3 separate regions of the Homo sapiens genome follow, and all the other regions are linked to region 1. The links are contacts of gene promoters, found by promoter capture Hi-C in human tissues and cell types (Jung and others, 2019). All regions are on one chromosome and are shown on one strand. The core of a region is centred on a gene start or on the middle of the fragment in contact, and the rest is flanking DNA. Distances in the headings are between cores, read along the strand shown. Region 1 holds the start of PPFIA2 (PPFI scaffold protein A2). Region 2 overlaps PPFIA2 (PPFI scaffold protein A2). Region 3 has its middle 35 kb from the start of PPFIA2.

Region 1 (3,923 bases), core at 590-3,089:
TGAGAAAGAAAAAAAGTAATAATAAATCTGATTGGCTTAATTATCCCAGTGCTTAAATTTAGCCGGAAGAATTTTATATCAGGAAAATAACTCCTTTATTCTTAGCACATAGCCTTGACTGTCTTTTAAATTTCTCAGATTTCAAAATAAAAGTTTGAATGCCCACTGGAGTCCTCACTCAAGGGCTTTCAAGATCCAATGTGTTCCTTAACAATATATGCCATCCAAGCAGTACCTCTTCAGATATGAGAGTGCTACAAAAAGCTTTTTTTCTTTTTTCTGTCAACAAATGACTTTATTTAATCATATCACTAGGAATTCGGCCCTACTAGAGGTAAGAATGTAATTATTATCCATAGTGAGTTTCTTCTGAAAACATTTAGTCTTAAGAACCATCCCAGCTCCACCTCAGTTAACCTACAAGGAGTAATTCAGTGAGAGAAATCCTAGCCATTGTCTGATTACATTACATGAATATTCTCCCTCCTATTTAACTCTTTGAAAGCCTCTGTCCTCGGGAAATATGATTATCACCTTTAATGGACACATTTTACACTTTCTTTACCCTAGTGCATTTACGGACAGCCAGAGCCAGCTCAACCCACACTACTGGACAGTTATCTCTCAGCCACACCCCCCACCACCTTGAAGAAGTTGACTTCATCATTTCCACACTAAAATTGTTCATCCTGCCCAACAGGACACAGCCAAGTAGGCAGGAGGTAGAGAGATAGGAGATGGAGAGGATGAGGTGAAAGCAAAAGGCACCTAACGGTAATCAACAAGGAGGAATTTGCATCTCATCTTCCCTGGGGGCGGGGTGGGGCCGGGGAGGTGGTCAAAAAATACAGCGAAAGGAGACAGTAAAACTCAAAGACAGCTTCTGTACCTAATGTCTGTGATTTCGGGTCCTTGCTTCTTCAATTGATCAATGACAACCGCAGTCTCCGGCTTGAGGAGAAGGGAGGCTCACACCCAGCACTCCTGGACCATTTCCCTAGCAACGGGAGGAGAAAGGCAGCTCAGACACACGCGTGCCCCGGCGCCCTCCCGGAACGTGCCCCGGCCCGGTGGCGTGGCAGGAGCTCGGCATCTTCCCGTGGCTCCGTCAGCAGCCAAAAGGAGAAGCGTCCATCGGAAAAATGGCATATTACAAATTTTGCTTTGGGAAGCAAAGCTCGGTTCAGACCATTGTCAAAGGAGGAGAGGGGGAGGCGGCTCTTAAAGCAGCCGCGGCCCCTTTGCCAGAACAGCCGCAGCTCCCCGCGTGCAGCTGGAGCCCCGGGGCGGAGACCGGAGACCGGGGACTGGGTTTGACTTTCAGAAACTTAACCACGCGGCGCCGCTCCCCCTCCGCGCCCGGGCCACCCGGGGTGTGTGGGGCGTCCCTCCAAAAGAAAGCTTGGAGAAAAGGCGTGAGAAGTATCTGGGAGAGAAGTTCTCCACCCAGTCTCCCCTCCTGGAGCCCCTCTGGAGTTTAAGGCTAACCCTGGGAGTTAGAAACCTAAAGGAAAACGAGTCCCTAGGGATGCAAAAAGCAGGACAGGTCTCCTCCTGGCCCCCAGCCTGTTTCCGCGCGCTCCCGTGTCTCGTTTCACTTAAAGGAGGCGCTTTTTCTCTGGAAAGGCAAACATCACCCCACGCCGTCCCCCGGCCCCCCTTCCCTCCCCCCCGCCGCCCCCCCGCCGCCACAGCACACACACCCATTTTTCTCCTCCCGGCCTTTCTGCAAGCCTCTTTGCTTGCTTCAATTGGCCGGAAGAACCAACCTGCTGGCAGCCGGTGAGGACGCTACAGCATCTTCTCTCCTCACTTGCCTCGTGCGGTGGCTGCTACTCCTCCTCCTCCGTCTCCTCCCCTCCTCCTCCTTGGCAGCCACCACCTCCTCTTCCTCTGGAACAAGGGCTTCCCCTGGAAGCTGCTGCAGTGGTTTCCACCGGCCCTTAAATAAATTCTGAAGTAATCACGTCTTTGCTCTCCTCCTCACGCACACGCGCCCGCGGATACACTCGTCTCCCCCAGAGCCGCTCCCGGGCTGCCGAGGCTCGCTCTGCTCCCAGTGCCCCCTGCGAAGGCGAGGGCCAGGGATGGGCAAAGTGGGAAGGGGGCACACGCTTCCCCGCCTGGGCTTCTTTCACACAATGGGCTCTACAGCCTTCGCTTGTGTCAGCCTGCGCTGGTGGGGATGGGAACGGACTTGGGCACCTTTTGGCTCCCCGGTCTTCTGTGCTTGTCATTTCTTTAAGCAGCTTTCTTCCCACTGGGCCAGGGCATGGTAGTCATGGTTGTAGGGACCTGAGCCAATCTAGGGTGTGGCGGCATCTGTCATTTCTCATTACCTCTTCAGTTCTTCTTCATTCATATTGTTTTGGTAATGGGAATTGTATGTTAAGTATTCCCTGCCCGAGTAAATTTTAGCTTTGAGCAGAGTCTGGTCTCTCCATCGCGCTCCAGTCCCCCTTATATCTCCACCTCCCTTTACCTACCCTCTTTTCTTTCCGTTGCTGCTGTCCATTCATACAGACTGAGGAAGCAGGAGACAAAATCAGTACCTACTCTGAGCAGAAAGGGAACGTTTCTGTGAGGGAGAGTCACGAATCCTGCTGGGTTTGGTGAAAATGAAGAGGACATGCATGAAGGAATTGGAGGATTAAACACTGAATATATTTTGGGGGTTACTGAAAATATTCTGAGTGTGCTACACGAAAGCCAAAAGACGTGTTTTACTTTTGTGTAACGCCAAGAGTCCAAAGTTAACAAAGAACTAGTATGTAAATAACTGTTCACTTAAAATTAACTACAATATCCAAGAAACAATCTTTGTTTCTGAGGGAAGTATTTAATTCAGTTAGCGACTTTACAATGGAAAGTGGGGTAAAGCTCATGTATTTACCCAACTTCTATTCTAGACTGTTATTTAAATTTTACAACACAACACAATCCTATAAGAAGTATAAAAATAATACGAAAATTCATTAGATGTCAACTGGAGCACTATTTCTCAGACATAATGTGCATACAGATCATCCATGGATCTTGTTAAGTTGTAGATACTGATTCACCAGGAATGGGGTGAAACCTGAAATTCTACCCTTCTAATGACTCCCAGATGGTACTACACTTGAGGAGGAAGGGTCTAGACCACCCAATCGACCCACAATTTGATGTGGCTTAAATACCCCTAACTACAGGAAACTCTTCACCTCACAGGATAGCCTAGTCTATTTTCAGACAAACTTCATATTGTAATAGCTTCAACATACTAATCATATATCAGTACTCATAACTTTCACTCTCTAGAATTCTACACAAAACATAAAAATTCCTTATACATGAGAGATATTCTTATTTTTACATATAGCTATTATGTCTATTTTTACAAGAATTCCTTCCTTATTAAACCTTGGTTTGAATTTCCTTGGCAATCAACGTTTGTTAATTACTGGCTCAGATGTTCCTACTGTTTCCAAGAAGAGTTTTGATTTCCTTGAGTCCCATTCGTATGTCAAATACAAGTTTTAATTGTAAGTATAATCCCCACATACAGTTGACACAGCATAGTTAAAGGCTAACCCATGGTAGGTATCGCAGAAAGAAAAACTTTGATAATGGGAGGCAGAAAAAAATATCACGAGTTAAAGGATATTTTGTTAAGAAGATACAGTCTTCATAGTAAATTTCAGCTGAAAAACTTGACATTATCACTGCTAACTTCACTGCAAAGAGTGTAAATAATATATTAAAACTGAGAAAGACTGTTTAAAGTAGCAATTTTGCATGAGGCATTAGGTGAGCCGATTCACATGAGAAGAGTTACCACCTGCACCAGTTTCTCTAGTTTAGGCCCTTAAATTTAGCATACAAGAGACACTCCAGAAGGGCTTGTTACAACACAGATTGCTGGGCCCTATCCTTCGAGTTTC
Region 2 (3,923 bases), core at 789-3,288, 41 kb before region 1:
AAACTTCTTGGAAGCTTTTGTTACATTTTCATGTATTTCACTTTTTAAAATTATTACTTCTGTTAGCAGATTTGTGCTAAAAATGTCTTCCTAGGTAAGACAGCAAATGTGCTCAGAAAGAGGTGCGAATGCTTTGGATAAATAAATGTTACCAGCTAGACAAGCAGCAGCTGGTAACCAGAAAAAAGGAAGTTCCCACCAGGAAAGAAAAAAGATTTTTCTGAATAGAATAAGTCAGAAAAAAAAAATGACAAGGTATGGCATCATAGGCCTTGTTGAACTAAAGACATTTCATGATCTGAAGTAATGTAATTGTAAGAATCCATGAGATAGTGGGACAACATGGGAGTTTAATCTGGGGTCAGCAAGCTTTTTCTGTAGTGGGCCAGATAGCAAATATTTTAGTCTATGTAGGCTACATACTCTCTGTTGCAACTATTCAAATTTGCTTTTGTACCAAGAAAGCAGTCATACACATTATATAAATGAATGATTATGGCTGAGTTCCAATACAACTTTATGGATGCTGAAATTTGCATTTCATATAATTTTGATGTGGCATGAAACAGTGTTCTTCTTTTGTTCTTTTCAACCCTTTAAAAATGTAACAAGTGTTCTTATCTTATGGGTGATGTCCAGATTTGGCCCATAGATCATAGTTTGCTAGCTTCAGGCCTAAATCATCATAGAACTGCAGGAAATCCAACACTGGTGGATAATAATAGTACCTTTATATTAATGAGCCTCTTTTTAATTGAATTGTAAGATGCTTGCAAGTGAAGAGGGTAAAGGTGCTGGGTGTACTTATTTTCCTTTGTTATTTGTTTATATGACTATCTTCACCCAGAAGCATAATGAGAGCTCAAATAAACCAGTGTGCTGCTCTTCCTAAAATAGTTAGGGCCTTCAAAACTAATATAGTCATTCAAAATTACTTAATTGAGCACCAATATATGCCAGGCACTGTCCTGGGTGCTAGGAAAACAATAGTGAATGAAAGAAACAAATTAACCTCAAGAAGCTTACCTTTCAGGATTGTGTCTTAGGACAAGCTCCATGTAAGGAGAATCTGAGATGTGGATTCTTGTATATGTGATGCAATGGCAAAGTGCTCTCAGGAGGAGGGGAATGGGGAAGAAGGACAAGGCAAAACATAAAAAAAAACCTAAACAAGAATATGGACTTAGCTTCAGACTACCGTCAAATTGATCCCATGGAGAAAATCTGAAGTAGAAACTGTACCACAGTTAGCTGTACTCTGAGGCAAGGGGGCTGGACTTTTGTACTCCTGTCCCTCACTGGAGAGGCACCTCCTATTTGGCCTGAGGGTAATGCTTCCAAGGGAGACAGGAACATTCCTGAGTGGTCATTAGAGAGATCTGGGCATAAAACTAACATCATCCACTACAGAAGGGTGACAAATAATAAATATAAATATTAAACATTTTTAATATGTCAGGTAGTGACATGGCTTTGTGGCTAGAGGAAGACAGAGAAAGATATAGGTAGAGGGATTGATTACTCTTTTACATCAAGTGGCCAAGGAAGTCCTCTGTGATAATGTGAAATTTCAGAAGAGAACTGAGGAAACTGAGTCCCAGTCATTCAGTTATCTGAGGGAAGAGGAGTTTTAAATCAAGACAGAACTAGCCTTAGAATGTTCTAGAATGTGTGAGAAGTGGGATGTGGCTGAAGTGTTAAGGATGAGTGGAGAGGTAGAAACTGAAGCTAGATGAAAGGGGTCATGACAGATTACATAGGGCCTTGAAGAACATTGTAATGTGTTCAGCTTTTACCCTAAGAAACAAAAGCACCAAGTGCTACAAGTATGTGCATTATACTTGTAGAACCCAGACGGGCTCTCAAAAACCATCTGGTCTAACTTCTCAATTTTAGAGATTTGTACAGTGGAAAATCTCTTTGAAGATAAAAGACAAGGATAGAGTTCTAAAATGTATGGAAAGTGACTTCCCATTTAATACATTTGAAGAAAATGCTGCTATAAATATTTGAACAGTTTCTACAGATTATGTTCATTTGTTTAAGTCCTGAATCTTAATGTCATCCCATCAATGGCAAAACTGTGAGAGGATGAGAGACAGCTGGCTGATGCACAGAGGATGCATGCTCACTGTCTGACGTTGGCTTGGCATTTATTCTAGCTGTAATTTCAGCACGTTGGGAAAGGGAAATAGTGATAATAATTTCAAGCAAGTGAGCTGTATTTTCTTTACATGCAGTGGTCAGCTACTGCCAAGATGACTATAGCTCCATAAATTGTTATTTCCACCAAATCCAATGCAAAATATTTTATGTTTAAATTGACAAATAAAGAACAAAAAACTATTCTTGGAAGATAATCATTAAGTAGTTATAAAGCAATTTAAAAATAACATTGCATATGAATTCCCATTAACAATAGTGGTATCTTGTGACTTCTATTAGTTTGAAAGAAATATTCCACTTCATGTTAGTACTGGACTTCATAGAAATATTTATTAGTGGGTTCAGCCCTCTGTTGTTGGTGTTGTTCAATGTATAGTAACTATACCCAATGTTTCTAATAATTCAAAAATATTTTTATGTTCCAATGCAAAGCCATATCTTGTTTTCTTGAAAGAGAATTTCTTACATTTCCAGCTCTACCTTAAATGGTCCATATCCTAGCTCTGATGTCAATTCTCCTATATGCAAGTTCTGATCTTAATTCTGCTTCCTGATTCTTTGCTATTAAAAAGTTCTCTGGGGTGATGATTACCCCTGACGGAGGAGATGTCCTTGAAACAGAAGCCTAATTTTCATCTCCTGTGTCATACTTCTTCTTCCTCCTTTTAAATATGTTGAACTACCAATGACATCAAAAAGAAATTTAAGCCAAAGTGAAGCATTTGGAGGAATTAAAAAGTTTTAACTGAACATCTTTATATATCTTAGTTTAATTAAATCTATAATTAAAACAGCATTGAAGCATACATCTTAAAAAGATCACAGATGAAAAATTCAGTTATTTCCTGAAATTTCAATAATATATACATATTCTAATATCTAGGTGAAACAAATACATTTCAAAATGTGTTGTTTAAGTTCACTGACCTTAAAAAAGCAACATATTGCTGATAAATAACATCATGACATACTTAGCTTAATTTACATAAATAAGCTTTTAAAAATATATAGAATATTTCAGTGTAAGGGAACATTTATTCCATTTGCTTACAGTTAAAGAGTTATGTTTGTCTTATTAATAAATTATATCCATTCTATCTGTATTTAGAGTTAGTAAATTTACCTGTAAAATTGTGTCCATTCTATCTGCATTTAGAGTTAGTAAATTTAAAAAAAAATGTAATTTAAACATAGTCTGGCATTCCCTACCTTAAGAGGTCAAGTGTAAATTCTTGTGAAATTACCTGTAATATAATTGGTGAAGAAGCATGGCCTACATCTGCCCAGGTTTTAAATTTCAAATAAAAGCAACTCCCTAATTGTTACTCTCTTCTGTGCAGAAACACTTGCTCTCAACAGGATTCTTTAATTAGGAAAAGAAATGTTTCTGTAAAAGGCTCTTACTGATTATACAGTAAAATGCTTTGGGGGAAAAATTGCTTTAAATTACTGACACTAAATACATTTGGATCTGCATGTCAAATGCACATACTAACTTCATTCTTGGATAGCCAAGAGCTACACACATAAGTGGACCTAAAATGGGTAGAATATAAAACTTCAGTTAGAATGTCATCTGTCACTTTCCCTGGTTTCCCTGCACAGCACTTGTTTGCCCCTTTTGGTAAAGAGATCTCAACTTCTTTGGGATGCTACCTGTCTTCAATACACAATAGGACCACCAATTAAAGAACTGCACCCTTCTAGCCAAGGTATGGCCCTGTGACTCAAATTAGGCTGCCTCAATTCTCTGACCT
Region 3 (3,923 bases), core at 385-2,884, 34 kb after region 1:
TGGAAGAAGTAAAAAAATCTTGAAGCCATCTTCCTTGAATGCAGAATAACTTTTCCAACAGGAGATACCAATGCTTATCAGGAATTTTAGGTTGTGGTTTTTTTTTTTTTTTTTCCATAGACACATGGAAGGCAGCATGTATAAAGAATTTCCCTGAAGTCCTCGGTTCATACTGTATAATAGAGGTGCTCAAAACACATTTCCTACATGTTTATAGAGCATTGTGCCTGATTTCCTGTGTAATCCATTAGGAAAAAAAAAATCCTTAATCCCACTTGCAATAGGGTAGAATTTTCTTTTTCTTTTCTTTTTTTTTTTTTTGAGAGGGAGTCTTGCTGTGTCGCCCAGGCTGGAATGCAGTGACTCCATCCTGGGAGTCACTGACAGCATCTCAGCTCACTGCAACCACCGCCTTCCAGATTCAAGCAATTTTCCTGCCTCAGCCTCCTGAGTAGCTGGGATTACAGGCATGCGCCACCATGCCTGGCTAATTTTTTTGGTTTTTGTATTTTTAGTAGAGACGGGGTTTCACAATGCTGGACAGGCTGTTCTTGAACTCCTGACCTCATGATCCACCCACCTCGGCCTCCCAAAGTGCTGGGATTACAGGCGTGAGCCACCGTGCCTGTCCTCTTTTTCTTTTTCCTGCTGGAACGTGGTAGACAAAAATTCCTCTATTTAAAAAATAACTCCTTTATTATTCAACTTCTATACTACCTAATCAGCCCTTGACAGCCAGCCAAAGGCAAAAATTAATTTTTTGGTTAGAAGATCCCACACAGAATAAGTTATCTGTCATTTTACAAAATGTCTGAGTTAACAACATCTAAAGTTCTTGATTTTGAAAACCTTTGTTGAAAGTCTAAACAAAGTATTACATCAGCACTCTACTTTTGACACTCAAAATCTCTGTGTCAATCATCTTACCCCTTCTCCACCTGCAGGGGCATTGGCACTCTTTCTAATTAGATTAGTTCTCACCCATGATAATAACAACGTGGACAACCTTTGTGAATGTAAATGTTACGTGAATTTTGCATGCAGTCAAAATTGTAGAAGTCTTGAAATTCTTTTTATAGAAATTTTATTCTAATGTCTTTCTTTTGTCAGGGCAGGATTGGTTTTATTCTAAGGTCTTTCTTTTGTCAGGGCAGGATTGGTTTGTCAAGAATAGTAGTCTAGTGAATTTTATTACTTTCTAACACTACAGGAGAGAAAACAGAGAATGAAGCAGGAGAAGAAAATCTAGTGGTATACGGCAATAAATACAGTTTTTGAATGTGAGTAATATCACCAGTAGTATCCTTCTGAGGGTGCAGTATTCGTTTTTTTTTTCAGTAATACATGTCAACATTTAAGGCAGGCAATTATCAATATTACTATCAATTCTTACCAGTATTCATTTTTCTGGAAACAATAAAAACTAGATTCCCCCAGCCAAATTATGTTAGTGAGAGGAAAAACCAAGGGCATGGCTAAAATATGTCAAATAAAACAAAACCTACTTTGTAAACACAAGATGGCAATTTACTCTCTCTATTATTAATGTAAATCTAAACAATAACATCAATTTGTTGTAGCAAAAAGAGAAAAATGACTAACCCAGTTTGGATATATTCTGGCATAATTCTTACATGGCCACAATTTAGAGAATTATAGCATGTTGAAAATATGATATCACTTTATTTATTCTAATAAATATATTGCTGCAAGACTATATCAACTTCTGAAATAAAAGGCACATAGAAAATTTAAATAAATGTTATTAAAGTGAGAAAAAACAGTTAAAATAATTGGGCTAACTTTTCGTTGTAAAGTATGATATCATAAAGAATAATAAATGATTTTTCTATAATTAACTGAAAATGCACTTGAAAATTGCACTGTGTAGATATGTTAGAATTGTGGATTTCACAGATGTGATGGGGTCCTCATGATCACGTTTGTACTTACTTGTGCCCATCATGCATCATCTTCAGAAATTTTTGCACATTTTCCCCTAAATTAGATACAATTCTAGGAAGCAACAGCTTGCAATGTAGACTTTATTGGGAGATTCACTGTAGCCATACAGCAGAAATTAATAAAAATCTAAGCACTTTCTGTTCCACCCTTTTCACCTAACTTTCTCTTTCCTACAGGCATCTCCAACATTTAAAGCTACAGCTTTTCAAACTCTAGAACCTGTCAGCCAGCCTTCATTGTTTCATGGTTTCTTTTTATAACATAATTCAGTTATCCATCGACCTCCAGAGTCTTGCAAATTTCCTCATTCTTATCAGCCAGCTCAGCAAATAAAGCATGTTCCTTATTGCGGCTTGAAACAGTAAATATTTTTATATTACAAATAAGCCATTTTAACTTACATATAAAATAATTATCTGAAAACAAAAATGTTTAAGCATTTGAACAGGAGAGAAAAATGAATTTATAGGACAGATTTATAGAAATTTATGGGCACAGATTGGTTAAACAAAAAATAAAAACAAAAACAGAACAAAACAAAAACCTCAGAAATACTGATGAATGAGATATAAAATTTCTTACAGGAATCTTTATTAAGTTCTGCTGCATGGTAGCAATGTTTCCACATCTTCAATAAATTTTAATAACATTTATTTATAAAAAAAGATTTAAAGAATATAAAGCCAAGCTTCAGATAGATGATATTTGTAATATTTATTTCTAAAAGATAACTGATGTTCAGAATATTTTAAAATTCAAAAAAAAAAAAATCTACCAAGAAAATGATAGATGACCCTTTTAGAAAAGGAGACTAATGACAAAACATCTCTCCACAAAAGAGGAAATTACAAATGGCCTTTAAGAATATGAAGAGCTGTTGCATATTCCAAATGATCAGGGAAAAGCAGATTAACAATGAGATACTATCTTACACTCAAAAGCATGGCTTAGATAGCCAACAATGAAAAGTGTTGGTGAGGGCAAGGAATATAACTTCAACTCTCAAACACTGATGATGATGCATAAACTGTTATAATCTCCTTGGAAAACTGGCAGTATCTAACAAGCTGACTATAGTCAGCTATACCTTGCATCTCCACTGTTCCACTCTAAAGTATACACATAAAATTAAAAAGTGAACAGAAATTTGTAATGTGAGATTAGTGCTACATATTCAAAGCAGCACTCTTAATAAGAACTCTAAATTGGAAACAACTCAACCATCAGCAGTAGAAAGGTAAACAATGTTACATCCTTAAAATGGAGAACTGCACATCAATGAAAAAGAACAAATCACTACTGATACTGACAGGAGGCAGCCAAATGCCTAGGCAGACAGGGGCGGGTCCCCAGTGAAACCTCACCACCAAGCCAAAGACAGTTTAAAGCCTGAAAATCAAGCTACAAGTTAAACCCTTGGACTGAATTGAGAACTTCTCCTCTTTCCTCTGATTGATCTCCACCCTTCACCTATTTTACATATACCTACTCTTTCCTAATTGGTTTTCTACACTGTCATGTACATCTTTGAGTGGTTTATTCGCTTTAACCCTTTTTGCATACTCACAAACCAGTCAGCACACACACACCCCATTCTGAGCCCATAAAAGACCCCAGATCCAGCCATAGAGGGGGACTTTCCCATCTTTGGGTAGGGGATTCCCTCCCGTACCATGCTGCATCCCGTCTCTGCTGAGAGCTGTTCTGTCACTCAATAAAATTTTTCTCGGCCCTCCTCACCCTTCAGTGTCCAGCATATCCTCATTCTTCTTGGGCACAGTACAAGAGTTCGGGAACTGCCAAATGCAGGTACAAGCTATAACACAGGTGAGCTGGGGCACGCCAGCATGGCTAAGTGAGGCCTGGGCAGGGCATCACTGACCAGGGGTTTCTGGCTTGCAAAGTGATCAAGAAGAAATAACCTGCATCAGTGCTACATACAACATGGATAAATCTCA

What was found. The method cuts DNA at HindIII sites, captures the fragments that hold promoters and counts their contacts. A contact is called where the count stands out against the background at its distance.
Region 2: a contact is called between a fragment that was not itself captured here and the fragment with the promoter of PPFIA2 in region 1, in 1 of the 25 tissues and cell types used here (H1 embryonic stem cells).
Region 3: a contact is called between a fragment that was not itself captured here and the fragment with the promoter of PPFIA2 in region 1, in 1 of the 25 tissues and cell types used here (lymphoblastoid cells).

The regions. Positions count from the first base shown.
Region 1 is chr12:81,757,511-81,761,433 of GRCh38, forward strand. PPFIA2 (PPFI scaffold protein A2) reads right to left here and starts at 1,840. Exons shown (of 33, transcript NM_003625.5): 1 at 1,770-1,840; 2 at 890-997. RefSeq lists an enhancer at 700-1,638. The HindIII fragment of the contact is 8,978 bases long and covers 833-3,923 here.
Region 2 is chr12:81,716,711-81,720,633 of GRCh38, forward strand. The region is part of intron 3 of PPFIA2 (PPFI scaffold protein A2); the gene reads right to left. Among named protein-coding and RNA genes, the nearest start is that of PPFIA2, 41 kb to the right of the region's middle. The HindIII fragment of the contact is 3,695 bases long and covers 192-3,886 here.
Region 3 is chr12:81,791,911-81,795,833 of GRCh38, forward strand. No RefSeq gene overlaps it. Among named protein-coding and RNA genes, the nearest start is that of PPFIA2, 35 kb to the left of the region's middle. The HindIII fragment of the contact is 5,936 bases long and covers 1-3,923 here.